Linked DNA regions of Homo sapiens: regions 1, 2, 3, 4, 5 and 7 are each linked to region 6. The links are contacts of gene promoters, found by promoter capture Hi-C in blood cells and fetal thymus (Javierre and others, 2016). All regions are on one chromosome and are shown on one strand. Each heading gives the region's core, a stretch centred on a gene start or on the middle of the fragment in contact. The rest is flanking DNA. Distances are from core to core; before and after follow the strand shown. Region 1 overlaps L3HYPDH (trans-L-3-hydroxyproline dehydratase). Region 2 holds the start of GMFB (glia maturation factor beta). Region 3 overlaps PSMA3 (proteasome 20S subunit alpha 3). Region 4 overlaps PSMA3-AS1 (PSMA3 antisense RNA 1). Region 5 holds the start of EXOC5 (exocyst complex component 5). Region 6 holds the start of GTF2A1 (general transcription factor IIA subunit 1). Region 7 overlaps PRPF39 (pre-mRNA processing factor 39).

Region 1 (2,815 bases), core at 147-2,646, about 22 Mb after region 6:
AATCAAGGGAAGAGGGCAGGCCGACTGAACCCTGGGACCGTCACCTGTGTCTCCTGGTAAGTGCTGATCTTCACCCTCACTTTAGCTTTCCACCTTCCAGCAGTCCCTCATTTCTATCAACTTGCCCATTCTCTTTTCATTAAACTTGCTTTTCATGTTGCGCCAGCATCAAGATAAAGACATTTTTTATTCAGTTTTGTTGTTACAATCCACAGCATGTTTTACTCTTTTGATTATAAACTTGCTCTGTTTTAACACATCATGGGTTAAAAGGGCTTCTGTGGACTAGTGTGGACTAATAGCATACTGATAGCCTTCTGTGGACTGATAGCATACTGATATCTTTGTATGACCTTGTATGAAAACTCAGGAACACAAGATATATTTTCTTTCCCAAAACTTAATTTCTGAAGCTGAAACTCTACTCTGTCCTTTTGGTTCACTTAGCCTCATCACTCCATGTGTTGTCCCCTTTCCTGATATGTGTGAGCAAAGGTTTCTTAAAAGTGCTGTGGCCTTGGAGAGGATGGCACTTCAGTCCTCAGCTTACACAGTTAACCAGCAAAGTGGAGCAGGAGCATTGGCTGCCCCACCCTACCTGGTCCTTGCCCTCTGCACTGCCTCCCCATCCTCTGTTTCTTCACTCCTGCTCCTGTGGTGCCCTGGGGGAAGTTAACACACGTCCTCTCTGCACTAAGGACCTTCAGCCTCCACTCTTCTCAAGGGAGAAAAAATTTATCTCTAGGAGAAATATTTCTCCCTTCAGGACACTCCTTTGCCAACAGATGTCTTTCCCCTGAGAGCTTAGGCTTCCCTAAAATAAAAACATGAAAGACAAGCTTTCTCCCCTGCCATAGGCTTCCCTAAAAGGCAGTGATCACCAAGCTAGCTTAAATTAGGGAAGAGGAAAATTTGAGAAGGGGCGAAATAAACATCACCCAGCCCCCTTTCTTTGGAAATACAGATTCAAGATTTCAAACTACTGACCTTCAGGTGAAACTTTGGGGATGTTGAGACTTAAAATGCTCAAATAAAAACCCTGGTGCAAAATGATGCTGTAGCAGTCAATGATTCTACAATGGCATTTTTCTGTGTTTGCCTGCAGGATACCTTAAGGAGATGAAAACATGTAGATAAGTGTATATAATTTATATAGAAAAATCTTTTATTAAAATTTATGTTTTGACATTACGGCTGAAGAAAATTGATTTGTAAATAGGATCCAAGACCCTCACTATTTTAAACCATCTCTCATAGTACAAGTGGGGAATAGACATTTTCCTTCTTAGTGTTCACAGGGATGCCCTTGGGTTTCCCTCTCTCGGCCTCAGGGGTGTTTCCTAGAAAAGATCCTCAGGGAAGTTAATGAATATGTCTGTATGAGTTAGGGAAAGCATGGCTTTAGTTTATAACTTCTGCAATCATCAAGTTAAAAATAGAATGATGCATCTAGCTATTATTCACTCGATGCTTATTCATTTAAAAAACGGATTTTTACTTCATTATTTTTATGATAGGAAAAGAACATCCCTCTTGAAAAATAAACATATTAAAAATCCTTTGAATTTTATTGCTAAAATACTTATTAACAAACACATCTTCTTTCCAAACACATCTTTTTTTTAGATCTCATGGTGGATGTTCCTGGACATGGAAAGGTGATGGTGGACATTGCATATGGCGGTGCATTTTATGCATTTGTTACTGCTGAAAAGTTAGGACTAGACATTTGTTCTGCAAAGACCAGGGACCTTGTGGATGCAGCGAGTGCAGTGACAGAGGCAGTGAAAGCTCAGGTCAGTAATACTCTGCCTTCATAACCAATTCCCTTCTCTGTGGCATGGAGGAAATATACATTATTATGTCTATAAAGAAAATTAAATGATGTTTAAATTATTAATAGTACTAAGAATAGGGTACTTATTAAAATCTTAGGCTCTAGAGCAAGCTTGTCCCACCCGTGGCCTGTGAGCCACATGCAGCCCAGGATGGCTTTGAATGTGGCCCAACACAAATTTTGTAAACTTTCTTAAAACATTATGAGTTTTTTTGCAATTTTTTTTTAGCTCATCAGCTCTCGTTAGTGTTAGTGTATCTTATGTGTGGCCCAAGACAATTCTTCTCCCAGTGTGGCCCAGAGAAGCCAAAAGATTGGACATTCCTGCTCTAGAGCAAAACTATCTATGAGTTCTAGCTTTACCACTGGTAACGTATATAACCTTGGGCAAGTTACGTAACCTCCATATGCCTCAGTTTTCCTGTCTGCAAAATGGAAATTAAAAAATACCTGCTTTGTAGGGTTGTGAGAATGAAATAAGTCAATACATGTAAAGGACTTAGAGTAGTGTCTGGCCAATAGTAAATGTTCAGTAAATGATAATATTATTTTTTTTGAGACAGGGTCTTGCTCTGTCACCCAGGCTGTAGTGCAGTGGTGTGATCATAGCTTACTGTAACTTCAAATTCCCAGGCTCAAAATGATGCTTCTGCCTCAGCCTCCAGAGTAACTGGGACCACAGGCATGCCCCATCACACCCAGCTAAATCTGTGTTTGTGTGAGTGTGTGTGTGTGTTTATATAGAGACAGGATGTCACTATGTTGCCCAGGATGGCCTCAAACTCCTGGCCTCAAGTGATTCTCCCAGCTCGGCCTCCCAAAGTGTTGGGATTACAGGTGTGAGCCACCACACCTAGCAGTTACTAAATTTAATAATACATACATACTAATATAGTTTATAGTTCCTTAAATGTGTAGAAATATATTTATAGAATTCTGCAAATTTTAAATGCATGTGTGTGGTCATTCTGTTAAACT
Region 2 (2,835 bases), core at 282-2,781, about 27 Mb after region 6:
ATGACTTTTAAGTATGCACCTTGGGTTTGTTTCTCACTTGCAGCCAGGCAGAGCGTCCTCCTCTAGAGGGAGCAGGGAAAAGAAAAAAAAAAAAAAAAAAAAAAAAAAAAAAATCAGGCGATCGCATTCTGTCTAATTTTGAGCCGCGCCTTTTGCCGTCCGCCATCACGTGCCGGCCCGCTGAGGCCGCGTTGATAGGTGGGGGCGACTGGGCCAGGCGCCGGGGCAGGAAGGGAGGCGGCCGCCGTGCCATTCTTAAAGGCGCCCGAGTGTAGGCGACAGGCCGCTGACGGCCGGAAGGAAAATGGTGAGTTGCCGCTGGGAGGGCGGGGGCCGGAGGGCTGGGCGAGCCGGCCAGCCGGGTTTTCCCGGTTTCCGGAGCCGGCGGCGGCGGGCAGCGCCCAGGAGGGCTCGGCGGCCGCTTCCGCTCCCAGCAGCTGGCCAGTGCCCATAGCTAGAGTACTTGGCCTCTGCCGCCGCCACCACGCCTCAGGGCAGCATCTTCCAGCTGGGCCCGGGGTGGACCCGCCCAGCGGGCCATGGGACTAGGGTGCGGCCACGAGCAGGGGGGTTGGGGAGGCCCCACGCCAGGTCCTTCTGGTTGGAGGGCTTCAGCTTCTGAGCTGTAGGTTGGAGGGAAAGGGGTCTGCCCCATCGGAGGGCTCCCTCAATTCCTGCTTTCCCTGCCAGGGCCGTGGCCAGGTTCCAGGGGTTGGTGGGCCCCGAGCATCTTCCACCTGGCGGCGTTTTGGGGGAGGACTCGAATTCCGATTGAATTCTCTCGGCCTCACCTTAGCTTCTTTCTCTCTGCTCCTTTCCCTAGCTTCCTACAGAGGATTTCTCCTTATCTTTGCTTTCCTATGGCAGTTGGAAACCTTTCGACCCAAAGCTTTGGCACTGGGCCTTAAAGTAATTGTCAATAACTTTAGTTTTGTTGGTTCTGGGGGCTGTGGCTTCTGTTCTTACATGGGATGGACCCCAAGCATAAAAATAAAGTGGAAAATTAAATAAATCGCCATCAAGGATCTTTTGGATCCATCCCATTAGGTTTTAAAATATGGGTAAATTTCATTAGAAACAACAAAACACTGCTCTCTGTGACCATCCACTCAATTCTCAGCCCACTTTCATCGAATAGATCTTGTCATGGTCACTGAATCGAATGGATTCTTTTCAGTTTTCGTCTTCTCTGACCTTTTAGCTGCATTCCAGAGTGTTATACTCTCTTGTTTTTGAAGCATTCTCTTCCTTCATTCTTCCCCTTTGGCTTCTGGGATACAGAGCTCCTCCTACTTCTCCTATTGGTCCATCTGTTTCCCTTTCAGACTATTCTCCTTTCCCTGGACAATGCTCGAAGGAGTCCCAGGTTTCATCCTAATCCTTCATTTTCCATTCTGTATTCTTCATCCTAAACTATGGCTTCAGTTACCATCTATATTCAGATGACTTGTGAATTTACAGCTCAGAAGACCTTGCTTCTGAGATCCAATCCAGATCTGTATGTACTTTTTTTTCTTTGAGTCGGAGTTTCACTCTTGTGGCCCAGGCTGGAGTGCAATGGCGGGATCTCGGCCCATTGCAACCTCCGCCTCCCAGGTTCAAGCAGTTCTCCTGCCTCAGCCTCCCAAGTAGCTGGGATTACAGGCATGTGCCACCACGCCCGGCTAATTTTGTTTTTTTGTTTGTTTGTTTTGAGATGGAGTCTCGCTCTGTCGCGTTGGTTGGAGTGCAGTGGCGCGATCTCCGCTCACTGCAAGCTCCGCCTCCCTGGTTCACGCCGTTCGTTCTCCCGCCTCAGCCTCCCGAGTAGCTGGGACTACAGGCTCCCGCCACCACACCCGGCTAATTTTGTTTTTGTATTTTTAGTACAGACGGGGTTTCACCGTGTTAGCCAGGATGGTCTCGATCTCCTGACCTCGTGATCCACCTGCCTCGGCCTCCCAAAGTGCTGGGATTACAGGCGTGAGCCACCGCGCCCGGCCCTAATTTTGTATTTTTAGTAGAGACGGGGTTTCACCATGTTAGCCAGGATGGTCTCGATCTCCTGACCTCAAGTGATCCACCTGCCCCGGCCTCCCAAAGTGTTGAGATTACAGACGTGAGCTACCGCGCCTGACCCCAGATCTATATATTAATATTTCAATATTTAGTTACCATTCCCCTGGGAAGCTTTTCCTCCACTTGGTCTCCTCAAAGCCACCTCAGTTTGTCCAAAGTAGAACTCATGCCCTTTCTCCTCAAACCTAGTCTTCTGTCTGTTATACAAGACAATCTGTTATACCAGCCAGAAGCCTAGTATATCTGGTAACCCTTTTTTTTGCTTACTCACACCCCACCCCCACCCCCAATATCCAATCTGTCACCACCTCCTTTGTAGTGGTTAAGAGAGTGAGTTAAGATAGGCTGCCTGGGTTGAATCCTGGCTCCACTAGCTATGTAATTGGGGAAAGATACTTAACCTCTCTAAACCTTAGTTTCTTGCAAAATGGGAGTAATAATAGTATCTGTTTCGTGAGATTGTTTTGAACATAAAAGGAAATCTATGTAAAGGATATAACAGTGTTTCTCTCATAGGGTCTGATACATGTTAACTATTATTAGGACTAAATGGGAATTTTTTGCTATTGAGTTGTTTGAGATCCTTGTATATTCTGATTATTAATCCTTTGTTGAGTGGAGAATTTGCAGATATTTTCTCCCATTCTGTAGGTTGTCTCTTCACTCGTTGTTTTCTTTCCTCTCAGAAGCTTTTTAGCTTGATATGATCTCATTTGTCTATTTTGCTTTAGTTGTCTGTGCTTTTGAGGTCTTACTCAAAAAAATCTTTGCCCAGAC
Region 3 (2,799 bases), core at 146-2,645, about 23 Mb after region 6:
TTTTCCACAGCCTTCATAGCATATTCAACTTGAAAAACTCTTCCGTCAGGAGAGAATGTAGAGGCTGACAGGTCATACTTAAGGAGAAAAGGGCAACAGTAAGCTTGTATCTTTGGCAGTAATGACCATACAGTTTCTTCCCCTCTAAATGGCTGAAACATCAGGAACCTGTTATATCCCAACAAAGACCTTGCTTTCAAGAGAGGAAAGGGAAACTTGTCAGAGCAGCAACAGTAGCTAAGATAAAGCTATATACCTTCGATTTCAGCTATTGAAGAGTAATGGATACAGGTCCCAGGTGAAGTCAGAACACTTTTCACCCAGACTACAAAACTCATTTTTGAAAAAGATTAATATGGGGCAGTAGAACCAGCACTGGAGTTCGAACATTTAAATTTGTAACGATAACTCTGCCATTAACAAACTAAAAGACTTCAAACAAATCATTCGGCATTCACCAAGCAGTTAATGAGTATCTATTATGTTACTATACGGAATACAAAGGTATACTCATTCATTAAGTCCTTCAGTTTCACATCAGACATGAATCTAGGTGCTAGAGGTACAGCAGTAAATCAGAAAAGGCACTAAGATGAAAATAAAAGAGTAAAGCAATGAACTACTACAGACTACATCATCAGGGAAGGCCTTCTGGGCAGTTATATTTAGGCTGAGTCAAACCTAAATGACAAGGAGCTAGCCATTTAAGATATGAAGGAAAAGTCTTCTTGACATTTGGCACAAAGATCTTAGGGTAGAAATAAGGCTAGCACAGTCAAGAAACAGAAATAAGGTCACTGTGTCCCAAGCACTGTAAGCAGCAGAAAGAAGAGTAAACTGTGTTAGTGAGGTAGCTGAGGGCCAGATTATGTTGTGTCTTCCAGGATGGAAAAAGGACTCTGTATTTTATTCTAAATGCAATGAGAAATTTAAGCAGGGGGAGTGGTATCATCTATATTTTTAAAAACATCATTCTGGCTTTATGCGGAAAATAAGCTGTAGAGAGAACAACAGAAGCAAAGATAAGGTGTTCCAAAGATAGCGGTAGTAGCTTAGACGAGAGAAGAGGTAGAAGGGAATATTTTTTGAGAGTAGAGTAAAATATAAAAATAATAAAAATAAACTTGCTAGGCCAGGCGTGATGGCTCATGCCTGTAATCCCAGCACTTTGGGAGGGTGAGGCGGGCTGATCACAAGGTCAAGAGATGGAGACCATCCTGGCCAACATGGTGAAACCTCATCTCTACGAAAAATACAAAAATTAGCTGGGCGTGGTGGTGCGCACCTGTAGTCCCAGCTCTTCGGGAGGCTGAGACAGGAGAATTGCTTGAACCTGGGAGGCACAGGTTGCAGTGAGCCAAGATCGTGCCACTGCACTCCAGCCTGGCAACAGAGCAAGACTCCGTCTCAAACAAAATAAAAATAAAAAAATAAACTTGCTAAAGCGTTGGTTCTGGGAGTAAAGTAAAAAAAGGAATTAAAGATGAATAACAGATTTTTTCATATGACCATTCACTGAGCTGAAGACTGTAGTAGATGCAAAATGGCAAGGTGAGGAGAAAACCCAGAGCTCTACTTTCACATGCAGTACGAAATGACTATTAAACGATCAAGTGAACAGACATGTCAAGCAGACAAACAAATATTCGTATCTGGAGTTCTTGGGAGAAATGAAGACAGAAGAAAAGCCTTCAGCAGTGGTACTTTCTGAGTCTGTTTCCTGATCTGTTAAACCCAGATCATTAACCCTACCATTGTTACTAAAATATCCCACATGGTTACATTATCAAGTATTCTTTAAAAGGTTTGTAGAATGAAATACTATTAATTCAAGGTAATATTAATATAATTGCAAAGTCAGTTTGCTACAAGATTTAATATTGAGCATTTACTTATCCAAGAAAAGTATGGCAGAACTTTAGCATTCATAACTGAATGGATTAAACCATTCCAGACATAAGTTGCCTATTATCAAATTTAGAACACCGGTACTTGAACTTAAGGCTGAGCATGAGAATCTTGTTAAGAAGTAGAAATTGAGGAACTGAGAAACTCATTATTCAATAACTCTAGTGCAAATAACCAATAAATCTTTTAGAAACTGTATTTTCTATATAGAGAAGTACATAAAAGGAGTAAACTGACTGCACATATGCAATACGTTTAACAAAGGAAAGCCAAACAAGTTAACAAGTCCCACTGCAAAATCCTCAACAGTCTATGAAAAGTCTGAAGCTGTTAAGTTCCTAAGTAACCATTTAAACGTTTACGGAATAAATGCCTACAAGCGCTGTTAGGTAATTTGTATAGGAAAAACGAGAAAGGAAAAACTGAAGGATTCATCAGATTGTTTTTCAGACCATTTTTATTAGTTCTGTTCCGACAGGATTTCCAGTGACTCTTAAACTGAGCGGTCAATGATCTGCACACTTAAAGACAGAGAAGGCCTGTGAATCAGCAGCACCCTAGGAACTGCAAACGCAGTCCACAAAAAGCACGATCTCCAGACCCCGGAATCCCAAATCTCACTGCCTCGGTGGTTCTCAAGAGAACACACTATTTCAAGCCCCACGAGTTTCCACTTTCGGTTTCCCTAAGTGGCTGAAGAAAGTGACTCAGCAATCCAAAGCGGCTCCAAACCTCACTGCGGCGACGCCAAGCCGGCTACACCTGCGCTGAAAAGCTTCAGGAGTCACGGTCACCTGAGACGCAGGCCTAGCATATAGGGGATAAAGACGACCGGTCTCCAAACAGCTGCAAATGGCCCACCCAGCCGAAGGCGGTCTCAGAGCACCCCGG
Region 4 (2,700 bases), core at 61-2,560, about 23 Mb after region 6:
GCGTGGTAACACATACCTGTAACCCCAGCTACCTGGGAGGCTGAGGCAGGAGAATCACTTGAACCCGGGAGGCGGAGGTTACAGTGAGCTTAGATCGTGCCACTGCACTCTAGCCTGGGCAGCAAGAGTGAGACTCGTCTCAAAAAAAAAAAAAACATAGAATTTGTTCAACTGTGCAGTTGTTTCTGTACACGAGTATATATTGAGAAGTGGAAATGATTGCTGTGTTGAATGTAGCAGCTTTCCTAAAGATTTAGTTATTTTATGGAAAGTTACATAATTTACTTATTTGTAACCAAAGCAGACTTTGAAATTTCTATGTTGTCTTTTGCCCTATTCAATTTTTATTTATTTATTTATTTTTTGAGACGGAGTCTCGCTCTGTCCTCCAGGCAGGAGTGCAGTGGCATGATCTTGGCTCACCGCAACCTCTGCCTCCCAGGTTCAAGCGATTCTCCTGCCTCAGCCTCCTGGGTAGCTTGGGACTACAGGTGCATGCCACCACGCCCGGCTAATTTTTGTGCTTTTAGTAGAGATGGGTTTCACCATATTGGCCCGGCTGCTCTCGAACTCCTGACCTCGTGATTCACCCGCCTCGTCTCCCAAAGTGCTGGGATTACAGGGATGAGCCACTGCGCCCGGCACCGTGTCAGATTTATCTGCTGATTTTATGGCCACATGGAGTCATAGATAATGGTTCGTATAATTCAAACTGGAATGACAGCGTATTTTAGGATTCAGATTCAAGCAAATATGAGTTACATAATGGCTTTCCTACAAGGATCTGTGCTCCAGAAGCTTAAGGTCAATAAAAGGGAGAATGTAATTACACATGTGGAAAGTTAATCTAAGTAGTTATTTCAAAATATTTAAGCAATCTATATAACCTTATTTATAGACTTACATGGCTCCTGATAATAGATTTGTCAAAGTTCTGTATACAATCAGATCTAGTGGTTCTTTTAAAAGAGACAAATTGCTTTAGAAAGCAGAGCAGAAAGAAATTTATAATGGTTATTAAAGGCTTTTCAAGGATAGTGAGATATAATGTGTAAAATTAGAAGGAGAGAAGACATTCTAATTGGATGAAAGGTTGTGAGCAAGAATACAAGGAAATATGTATTTGGGACAGAGGGTAAACCAGGTCAGAAAGGATGATTGGCTGAAGATTAGGGAAAATTGTGTGGCCAACCTACCCCTGTTTCTAGGGTTAGCTGCACATCAGAGTCCAATGGGGTGTTACAGGGTTCTAGAGGGTCTTGGAAGATTGGGAGTAAGCAGAAATTGACCATTATTTTTGTCTTGTCTTATTTCAAGTTTTACAAATTATAATGGAACTAAACAAAATAAAATGCAGCCATGCATGGTGGCTCACACCTGTAATCCCAGCACTTTGGAAGGCCAAGGTGGGCAGATGGCTTGAGGCCAGGAGTTTGAGACCAGCCTGGCCAACATTGTGAAACCTCATTTCTACTAAAACTACGAAATTTAGCCTGGCGTGGTGGCACGTGACTGTAATCCTAGCTACTCGGGAGGCTGAGGCAGGAGAACCTGGGAGGTGGAGGTTGCAGTGAGCCAGGATTGGACCACTGCACTCCAGCCTGGGCAACAGAGTGAGACTGTCTCAAAAGAAAAAAGAAATCACTTTTAATGCCACTCTAAGAGATTTTTAAAATTTCCTTCCTCCTTGTTTGTATGTATTTTCTTTAGTCTTAGGGTAGTTTTTGGTTTTCTTTGCTCCTTTAACATTATAACAAGCATTCAGTGTAATGGACAGTCTCTATAATGATTTTAATGTCTGAAAATATTCCATCAAGCTTTTTTATCCTTTTCATTTTTCTATTGCATGACTGTAAGTTTCATAGTGCTTCAGTATTGTGCTTCAGGTATCTTCTGCATGCATACAGTATTTTCTCTTTTGGACTGTTCTTTTAGGAGTACATTTAAAGAGTCGTTGTATGAACATTTTTATGACTCCTGAAACATTGCTGTGTTGTTTTTCAAGCTGGTTATAATTTACACTATCACCCTCCCTGTGAGTTTAGCTAGTGGCATTAAATAGTCTATAATTTTCATTTTTACTAATTTAATAGGTGCAAAATACATTGAGCTCTTTTTTTCTTTATAGTGTTTTTGTTGTGAATTAGTGAAATGGGACCTTGTTCTGTGATTTCACTTACTGATTCTTTTACAGGTTGTCTATTCACATTTCTAATTATGTATTAGAATCTTGATGTTTTATTTCTTAATTGATTGAGTTTATTATAGTGGTAACTTGCTGCACATATTTTTCCATACAGATTTCCCTTTTAATTTTAGTTACTTTTGCTGAGAGTTTTTGAATAGGCACAGAAAGGCATGTCATAAACAAAATACAGTGTTGGAAAATTATTTAGAAACAATGCCCATTGTAACTGAAGAAATGACACAGGAATTGGAAGTAGGGAGACAAGATACTGTTGAAGTGGTATCAGCATGAGATGAAACTAGAGTAGGAACTGGAGAGAGAAAGGAATAGGTGAGCAAGGAATTGTTTTGGTGGGGGGAGGAAAACTTGACAGCATTTGATCTCTGATTATAGAGGTGAAGAAGAAAGAAAATGAAACATACTCAAGATTTAAGAAAGAGGGAACGAGCAGTACCATTCACTGATTTGGCAAGTCAAGAAAAGCCACTGGTTGGTAAAGATGATGAAATCTG
Region 5 (2,930 bases), core at 60-2,559, about 24 Mb after region 6:
AATAGTGAATACATTTTTTTGTGTTTCTATTTTCTTCAACAATTAGGAACTGTAAACTGATGATTTCTACCATTGACACATATTAACAAGATAAAAATAAAAGCCTGGGCGGGGCGCGGTGGCTCCTGCCTGTAATCCCAGCACTTTGAGAGCCAAGGCGGGCGGATCACGAGGTCAGGAGATCAAGACTATCCTGGCTAACACGGTGAAACCCCCTCTCTACCAAAAATACAAAAAATTAGCCGGGCGTGGTGGCGGGTGCCTGTAGTCCCAGCTACTCGGGAGGCTGAGGCAGGAGAACGGCATGAACCCGGGAGGCGGAGCTTGCAGTGAGCGGAGATCGCACCACTGCACTCTAGCCTGGGGAACAGAGCGAGACTCCGTCTCAAAAAAATAAAAACAAAAAAATAAAAGTCTGATATAACTTAGCATGGATTTTTCAGTAGAATAAGTTAAAATGTTCTGGAACGATTTTGTCAATGCATGTTGAAAAATCTGAAAATGTTTAGTGCTCAGTAAATTTTCTACCGTTCCCTTAGTCATCTCCATTTTAATTCTAAGCAGACGGAGGTCATTTTAAAACACAATACTAATAGAAAACATATACCGTAAATAATATGTACCAGTCATCAACTCAATTCTCACAACACTGTAAGGTAGGACTATTAAAATCTCCATTTAACAGACGAAACAGAGGTCTGTTAACTGGCTAGCCCAAGGTCACGCAGCTATTCGTGGCAAACCTGGGCCACGAAGCACCACAAAACTATGCTACTTCATCGATCTTCTGATCCATCATCCCTGAGGATTCAGATTTGCATTTACCTGGAGAATCTCACGGTGCCACAAAGTGGAGTTCCCGGTTCGTGGCTTATGAGCCACACTGCCCGCTGCGCCATGGTTAAGTCAGTAAAGCATTAGCTCATCTCATAATTAAGGTCGCCACCGAGGAACAGCGCAGACCGGCTTTCTCAGACAGACTCTTAACAGAAGCCCTGAGGCTCATCCTGCGCCGCATACCGGTCGCGCTCAGCAGAGAGGTTAGCTTTTTTAGGTGAAGTCACTAACGCTTCTGAGTCGCTCTAGGCCAACACACACCACAAAAAGTTCTAAGAACCCCAACCTATAACCTTGAGAAATTTACCTATACCCTGCAACTCCGGTATTTTCTTCCTCTAAATTCTACTTCCGGAATGGTGGCCCGCAAGGATCAAAGTTCCTCATACACGGTAGCGTCGAGCCTTTTTTCGGTTCTTTCGCCGCTCGTTTTATTCGCCGGCCCCTCCCGACAACCTCCCTGGCGCGCGCAGTTCCACTTCCGGCGTATGAGGCGGTGACAATGGGAGCAGCGCGGGCGGCGCCGGGAGGCAGCTGACAAGCGTTTGCGGCTTCGCTTCATGGCCGCTCTCCCGCCCCTCCTGGGATCTGTGGGGAGCTGGGGAGCCCGCAGCGGCCCGGAGCCGGAGCTGGCGAGCCGAGCGGAGACCTGTGCGCCGCGCCTCTGAGGCGCAGCATGTGAAGCGGAGACGGCATCCAGTGGGGGGCGAGCCTCTCAGCCGGCCGGGATGGCTACCACGGCCGAGCTCTTCGAGGTGGGCCCCGGCGGCTCTACAGGGAGTGGCAGGCCCGGGGTTTGCAGGCAGCTGGGTGGGCGGGCCGAGGAGCGGGCGTTTGCTGGCTGCCCAGGAGGAGCCCTCGGGAGAGAGGTGCGAAACAGAAGGGTTGGGGTGGCAGCTCCGTGTCAGCGCGGGCGGAGCGTGAAATGGGGGAGGGGTGCTTGGGGCCGAGGTGGGCTGGGCGGCCGGTCGGCAGAGAGGGGAAGCCGGGTGTCCCAAGGGAGGAGGGTTGCTTTTGTTTGTGGGGGCAAGAGGGAAAGTCTGGAAGGTTCGGGTGTTGGAAGATGTCTACTCCGGATGAGTAGTGGGAAGGGCTGACTCAGGACGAGGAAAGAGAGCCAGGAGCCTCAGGTTGGGCGAGTCTTGTCGCTGGGGTCCTCGCGGGAATAATAGGAGGAAGCCACTTGAGATCGGGACTCTTGGGGGCTTCTCGTTTTGAGTAATTATTCCATTAGTAAGGTTGCAGGTGGCATTCATAGGACTGCCAGTTTAACCTGACATTTGAAAAGGCTGGGACAATTTTTTTTTTTTTGGACAATAAAGGCCTACTTATCTCTTTCGACTGAAGAGAGATAGACTGAAGGGAGGCAAAATTCAAGTGAACACTTTATTTCATGTAATACATAATAATACACTCGAGGCATTTACGTGTATTATAAAATAAAAAAAGTTTATAAAATAAAACGAACACTTCGTTTCATGTATATAATGCACCTTAAGTGTATTATATGCATTTACATGTATTATAAAATCACCTAACTGCAAGCTAGAGAATCCTTAATATGTAATAGTGAGAATACTAATGTCTTTCCTCGAGCGTTTACAGTATCTAAACCTTAAAATTTAATTTCGTGAAGTCCGTTGTAAGAAGCTGTGATAAAAGTTTGAGATAATAGAATAGGAAAACTCTAATTAGGCTACAAAACAATGACACGTATAAAGCATCTCCTTGTGTGAAAGAAATGAAAACGGATAAGAAAAAGGAAAGAAAGACCCCTTTTTTGTGTGTGTGCTTGTGTTTCACATTGAGTAACAAAAGTGTAATAATTGAGAAGACTGTAATCCACAATAGGGAACTTCTCCATAAGTGAAAATGGTATCCTTTTTCTGCGTAAGATTCAGCAGTTTTTGTGGCTTACAATTTGAATGCCACAGTTTTAATAACAAATGGAAATTTACATTTGTTATTGTTACTATATTTTGCATATCAGTCAGCTTTTGGATAGATAATGCTTTTTTTGAGAGGAGTAATATATGTTATTGTTATAATAAGTTGTAATAAGACAGTAATTTGTGAATGAAGGATTGTAATTA
Region 6 (2,700 bases), core at 157-2,656:
TGGGAAGCAACTGTTAACAGGGGAATGGACTTGGCGTGAAAAGAAATGTCAAGGTTCATAGATATCCTCTACACCCATTCACAATCTCCCATTTTCTGAGTATTCAAGGCCTCTGGTTTCTCTAATCCCTTTCTTCAAGTCTTGGCAAGATGCATTTTTTTTCCTCTTTGGTAAGACGCCTTTGATATTCTTCAAATCTGGTTTCACCAGCACAGAACTTTGACGTTTCGTTTTGCTTTGTCTCTGGAAGACAAACTCCCTCACTCATCCACGCGACATTTCAAGTCCCTCAAAATTCCCAGGGACAAGAAAACTAGGTACTATGAATTCTGCCTTCCAAACAGCATTCTCTGTTCTGCTTGCAAGGTCGATATAAAGGCAGGATTTGCTTGGGCAGAACAAGTCAAAAGCTTATTGAATTGCACTTATTGAATTGAACATGGAACACAGCCGGCTTGCTCTCTTATAGCGAGAGGCCATGCGAGTTGGTGGGTCAAGGGCATGCATTTCAAAGTGATCAGTCACTATACGTTGGCCACATGGAGTCGCAGTATTTTGGCAATATTTTTAAAAACCAGGGAAAGTTACTGTGCTGTTACAATCCAAAGGCTGGTGGGGTTTTCTTCCACCCCGCATTTCCACTAGCGTGATAAATTATTTAAAGTACGTGGCCTAGTAGAGGACTAACCTCTGGGTAACATAAGCCTAGTCTTCGCAGCGTACCCACTGTGGAAACAAACGAATCAGACGTTACTAATTGTGGAATGTTAAAAGTAGGCCCCGATCGGCTTTTACTCCCTTTGGAAAATCCTACACAATTCTGCGCGCGAAAGACCCACCCTCGGTGAGGCGGTGAGGCGCGAACGCCGCGAAGCTCACAGTCAAAGCCTCGCTGACAAATCAAGAGATGACTCCGCATTTAAAACCTTCCCGAATAGGAACGCGCCAGAGGCCGGAAGCCACGCCACGTGACCAGTCCTCCTCCGCGGCCATTCCTAGCGAGGCAGTAGGCACCGCCTCTGTCACATTTCCTAGCTCCTAAAGCGCGGGACCAGGCGGAAACGTGCGACAGGAGGCGGTCCCACCTAGCTTTGGACTGGAGTGTCAGTAGAACTCCCGTCTTTTCCAGCAACGCTTTGCAAGTTCTTCACCGCAAAGAACTGCCGCAGACTTCCGCCTGGGTGCCAACCACGTGATCACGCGAGCGTTGGAGAGGCGTAGGTCCGATTTCACTACTTCACTCCCCGGGCTCCGCCAGTCCAGTACCCGCCACGGCGCGTGACAACGCGGCTCGCCGGCGGCCTCCGCCCCGGCGCGCCTGCGCACGCGGCTCTCGCGGTGTCTCGCGCTCAGCCCCGCCCACCTCTGCCCCCGCCCTTTCCGCCCCTCCCTCCCCCTTCACCCTGTCTCTCGGCGGCGGCGGCGGCGGCGGTGGTGGCTCGCGCAGCTTGTTGGCTCGCTATATAAAGGAGAGAAGCGGGCGGACCGGACGGCTGGAGCTGCAGCCGGTGGCGGCAGCGGCGGCGCAGGGAGCGGTGACCGGTGGTGGTTTCCCTCCTTGGCGCGGGGTGGGGAGCGGGCAACGCCCCCCGGACCCCTGAAGGGTCGTGGCTTTTTTTTTTTTTTTAAGGCGATTCTCGAGGTTTTCAGCTGCGGGAGGAGTGCCCCCCTCCTCCTCCTCTCTCCGCTCTCCCCTACTCCTTCAGGATTGATTTTGTTTAAAATTTTTTCCCCAATCTTGCGGTGATTTGGGTCACCCTCCGGGTGTTATAGTTTTTTTTTTTTTGGTTTTGTTTTTATCTTGTTTTCTTGGGGTTGCCCCCTCTTGTTTGTGTTGTGTGTGGAAATGGCGAACTCGGCAAATACAAACACCGTGGTAAGGACGTGGTTCGGTGGCCGGCGGGGGCTTCGTTCAGGCTGCAGCAACGGCCGGACCGGGCGGGGGCGGGGACGGCGGCGACTCCCGGCCTCGACTCTTCAGCCGCCCGCGCGGCCGCCGCCGCCGCCGCTTCCCGCCTCGGGCGGATCGGGCCGGAGCGCCGGGCGGCGGGCGCGGGGGGGCGCCGAGGGCTCGCGGCGCGGGGAGGGCGGGGGCGCCGGTGGGGCCTGGGGCCGCCGCGGGCCGGGCCGGGCCGCGGAGGCGGTTGGGCCCGGTCGGGCGCGCAGCCCCGGCCCCAGAACCCGGCCGCCGGGAGGGAGGGCGGGAGGGGAGCCGCCGCTTCCCCCCGAGGGGCCCGTCCGCGCTGGCTTGACGAGGGCTCCCCGAGTGGCTACAGAACAAAAACTGTGTGTGGGGAATCGGGCGAACCCCCGAGACCCATCGTGATCCACTTTAATGCAGTGGAAGATTAATGGTTACTTTGGGGGTTTCTTAGGTTGTTTTTGGCGGCTGTGCTTTGGGAACCTTCTCTGAGGCCATTTTATGTTTAAAAAAAGGACGAAGGTTGGTTGAAAAGCACTTATCTCAGTTCCTTCCGAATGGGTAAAATGGCGAAGGGGAAGACCCCCATCGTATCTTCGCCTAGCAGAAGCACCAAAACAAACAAAAAAAGCCTGCAGTGGTCCAAGTGTCCCCGCTTTCGCCTTGAAATTTACCTACTTCTTCCCGTTGGTCCCTTTTTGTTACTTGCGATCACGTAGGTTTGCAAAAAGCAGTCACATAAATAACCTTTTCAGTCACCAACGCAGTGTGATCACTAG
Region 7 (2,933 bases), core at 8-2,507, about 36 Mb after region 6:
CTATTTGTTTAAACTACTATCAATATACAAGTTTTCTATTACTTTGAGACAAAATGAATTCCTAACCAATTAAGTCATCAACAGTGCATGAGACTGTCCATTGCTTTATATCCCCGGCAACAATAGCTATCATTTGCTCATCTAATTTTTTTTTAACAAAGTAGCACCTCATTTTGATTTTCATTTCCTTAACTATGAGTAAGTAAAATTTTTATTTCTTTTTTTCATAAATGCCTTTTCACATCTTTTGCCCATATTTTCTGTTCATTACTAATTTTTTTCTTATTGGTTTGTATACACTCTTCGTAAACTAAGAAAGCCAGATCTCTGCAAAATTGTAAAATATTATTATAAGTTTGTCATATTAGTTTTGCATTCGGGGTCATGTGTCTATGTGTGACCCTTTAAAATTGTCACACGGATACAAAACCCAGATTCTAAAACATTTCCATCATTTCAAAATGTAGCATGGCCAGGAAAGGTGGCTCACACCTATATCCCAACACTTCGGGAAGCCAAGGTGGGTGGATCGCTTGAAGCCAGATGTTCCAGACCAGCCTGGGGAACAAAGTGAGATTCCATCACTACAAAAAAATCTAAAAATTAGCTGGGCACAGTGGTGTGTGCCTATAGTCCTAGCTACTGAGGAGGCTGGGGTGGGAGAATCACTTGATCATCCAGTAGTTCAAGGCTGCAGTGAACTACGATCACACTACTGCACTCCAGCCTGGGAGACAGAGCAAGATTCTATTAAAAACAAGGAAAAAAGAAAAAGAAAGAACAAATAGTATGAAACCATTTTTTTCCTAAGCCTGGGAGACAGAGCAAGATTCTATTAAAAACAAGGAAAAAGAAAAAGAAAGAACAAATAGTATGAAACTATTTTTTTCCTAAGAAAGAATAAATTTTAAATGTTAAAAGACCTTCTGAGTCTGAATGCCATTGAAAGAATTAGCTATAACCAGGTAAATCTAGGGAATACACAAAAATTTGAAAGGAAAAAATGGGACATGTGGGGATGGGGGAAGGGGACAAAAAATTTTCAATGCCTGATGGATGTCCAGCACTGTATTACATTCCTCGTAGTGACATATAAGTGTAAGATAAGGTCCTTACTCACTAATGTCTATTAACCAGGTAGAGAAAGAGCTAACACACAACACATACACACACACACAAACACATACACACACACATTTGGAGATAAGCTCTCAAATGAAACAAAGTGAAAGATTATTGAAAAAATCATTTGAAAACAATAGCAATCTATAGATGAAAACATGAAATATAATTAACTTTGAAAAATTATGGAATAATAGAAAAAGAATGGTAAACTATTCTAGAATGTGGAACAACCCATTAAACAACTCTCCTTGACAGCAGACAAGAAGGTAGAAATGATGACTGAAAAGATAAGAGAGACACAGAATGACCAGAATGAAGAGGTTGGTATTGAGAAGTAGAAGGGTAAAAGCAAAGTAGCATGGAGCCATATTATGGACAAAAGAATTTGAGAAAAAATTACAGAAAAAGCAAATCTAGCCAATGCATAATAAAAGAGAGTCCAAAGTAGTAGACTACCAGAAAAAATAAGTTCCCTTCTAGTTCAATGTATGATTAATGTCATCAACTTTTCCAAGTTTAATCACTTCAGGCCCTAGGAAAAGGCAAAGTAACTTGTAAATTTATTTTGTTCTTTTTCCCTCTTCCTTTAAAGAAAAAGATACGTTTGAAGATTAATTTTCCAAATGCAAATTAGTCACTAGTTTGTGGTTTTGTATTTCAGAGCTCAGTCTAAAAACAAAATACAAAAAAGACTGTAGGCTGATACATTCTGAGTCATTAACTAGCTACCCTATTCTAATTTCACACTTAGGTGAGACATAAGGGTTTCTTCTGGAATCAGCAAATTTACCACACCCCTGCATCTTCAGAGCCTGTCAATTACTCCACACCCTGCAATCACAGTGTTGTAAAAAGATTTAAGAACATCAACCTTATGCTTATAGAGATCATTTTGATGATTACTTCACAAATCACAGAGTCAAAAGAATACACTAAAGTTATTTTTTAATGAGTTACTCCAACATATTATTTATATGTCAATTATTATCAGTTTATTCTTAACAACAACCAATAATTTTCAACTAGCAACATAAAATGGGAAAGGGTACAGAATAGCTATCAAAAGAAAGAAATAAAACGGGCCAGGCATAGTGGCTCCTGTCTGTAATCTCAGCACTTTGGGAGGCCAAGTAGGCCGATCACCCATGAGTTCCAGACCAGCCCAGGCAACATAGCAAAAACCATTCTCTACAAAAAAATACAAAAATTAGCCGGAGGCTGAAGTGGGAGTCAAGGCTGCAGTGAGTCGTGATCGTGCCACTGCACTCCAGCCTGGGTGACAGAGCCAGACCCTGCCTCAAAAAAAAGAAAGAAATCAAGTGTGATACTGACATAAAAACAGTCAAATAGGCCAATGAAATAAAGAACACAGAAATAAACTCCCTTCTCAAATGGCCCTCAACAAAGTGCTAAGACTGCTCATTGAGGAAGGGATCGTCTCTTCAAATGGTGCTTGGAAAACTGGATATCCACGTGCAAAAGAATGAAGTTGGACCCTGGTCTTATACTACATGTAAAAATTAACTTAAAATGAAGTAAAGACCTAAATGTAAAACCTAAAACTATAAAATTCCTAGAAGAAAACGTAGGGGAAAGCTTAATGATACTGGACTTGGCAGTGAACTCTTGGATAATGCCAAAAGCACAGGCAAACAAAAGCAAAAACAGACAAATAGGACTACATCAAATTTAAAAGCTTTTGTGCATAAAAGGACACAATCAGTGGAGTGAAAAGGCAACCTACAGAATGGGAGAAAATATTTGCATATCATATCTGTAATAAGGGGCTAAGTAATCATCTCTTCACT

What was found. Contacts are between HindIII fragments. The CHiCAGO score rates a contact against its expected background, and 5 or more counts as called.
Region 1: a fragment that was not itself captured here is called in contact with the fragment with the promoter of GTF2A1 in region 6 in 1 of 17 cell types (total CD8 T cells); the score reaches 6.3 in total CD8 T cells.
Region 2: a fragment that was not itself captured here is called in contact with the fragment with the promoter of GTF2A1 in region 6 in 3 of 17 cell types (non-activated CD4 T cells, total B cells and total CD8 T cells); the score reaches 10.7 in non-activated CD4 T cells.
Region 3: a fragment that was not itself captured here is called in contact with the fragment with the promoter of GTF2A1 in region 6 in 3 of 17 cell types (total CD8 T cells, fetal thymus and non-activated CD4 T cells); the score reaches 10.1 in total CD8 T cells.
Region 4: a fragment that was not itself captured here is called in contact with the fragment with the promoter of GTF2A1 in region 6 in 1 of 17 cell types (total CD8 T cells); the score reaches 6.3 in total CD8 T cells.
Region 5: a contact is called between the fragment with the promoter of EXOC5 here and the fragment with the promoter of GTF2A1 in region 6, in 9 of 17 cell types (naive CD4 T cells, naive CD8 T cells, total CD8 T cells and 6 more). The highest score is 30.6, in naive CD4 T cells.
Region 7: a fragment that was not itself captured here is called in contact with the fragment with the promoter of GTF2A1 in region 6 in 2 of 17 cell types (non-activated CD4 T cells and naive CD4 T cells); the score reaches 11.0 in non-activated CD4 T cells.

The regions. Positions count from the first base shown.
Region 1 is chr14:59,478,163-59,480,977 of GRCh38, reverse strand. L3HYPDH (trans-L-3-hydroxyproline dehydratase) reads left to right here. Exons shown (of 5, transcript NM_144581.2): 2 at 1,627-1,796. Among named protein-coding and RNA genes, the nearest start is that of L3HYPDH, 4.8 kb to the left of the region's middle. RefSeq lists an enhancer at 11-110. The HindIII fragment of the contact is 1,109 bases long and covers 842-1,950 here.
Region 2 is chr14:54,486,397-54,489,231 of GRCh38, reverse strand. It overlaps GMFB (glia maturation factor beta), which reads left to right and starts at 252. Exons shown (of 7, transcript NM_004124.3): 1 at 252-307. The coding sequence starts at 305. RefSeq lists a silencer at 170-569. The HindIII fragment of the contact is 1,280 bases long and covers 892-2,171 here.
Region 3 is chr14:58,245,028-58,247,826 of GRCh38, reverse strand. PSMA3 (proteasome 20S subunit alpha 3) reads right to left here. Exons shown (of 11, transcript NM_002788.4): 2 at 1-77. Among named protein-coding and RNA genes, the nearest start is that of PSMA3, 1.6 kb to the right of the region's middle. RefSeq lists enhancers at 2,511-2,799, 2,075-2,799. The HindIII fragment of the contact is 2,580 bases long and covers 106-2,685 here.
Region 4 is chr14:58,288,695-58,291,394 of GRCh38, reverse strand. All of the region lies in intron 2 of PSMA3-AS1 (PSMA3 antisense RNA 1), which reads left to right. LINC00216 (long intergenic non-protein coding RNA 216) reads right to left here. Exons shown (of 1, transcript NR_146595.1): 1 at 2,242-2,700. Among named protein-coding and RNA genes, the nearest start is that of LINC00216, 2.0 kb to the right of the region's middle. The HindIII fragment of the contact is 1,019 bases long and covers 801-1,819 here.
Region 5 is chr14:57,267,284-57,270,213 of GRCh38, reverse strand. It overlaps EXOC5 (exocyst complex component 5), which reads left to right and starts at 1,309. Exons shown (of 18, transcript NM_006544.4): 1 at 1,309-1,592. The coding sequence starts at 1,566. AP5M1 (adaptor related protein complex 5 subunit mu 1) reads right to left here and starts at 1,243. Exons shown (of 8, transcript NM_018229.4): 1 at 826-1,243. The coding sequence starts at 899. RefSeq lists enhancers at 1,079-1,278, 926-1,509 and a silencer at 1,819-1,878. The HindIII fragment of the contact is 4,317 bases long and covers 1-2,930 here.
Region 6 is chr14:81,219,665-81,222,364 of GRCh38, reverse strand. It overlaps GTF2A1 (general transcription factor IIA subunit 1), which reads left to right and starts at 1,406. Exons shown (of 9, transcript NM_015859.4): 1 at 1,406-1,876. The coding sequence starts at 1,847. GTF2A1-AS1 (GTF2A1 antisense RNA 1) reads right to left here and starts at 1,147. Exons shown (of 2, transcript NR_135252.1): 1 at 840-1,147; 2 at 1-726. RefSeq lists silencers at 1,242-1,541, 1,572-1,621, 2,152-2,271 and enhancers at 2,612-2,700, 2,684-2,700. The HindIII fragment of the contact is 3,079 bases long and covers 413-2,700 here.
Region 7 is chr14:45,088,978-45,091,910 of GRCh38, reverse strand. The region is part of intron 1 of PRPF39 (pre-mRNA processing factor 39); the gene reads right to left. Among named protein-coding and RNA genes, the nearest start is that of PRPF39, 6.3 kb to the right of the region's middle. The HindIII fragment of the contact is 2,933 bases long and covers 1-2,723 here.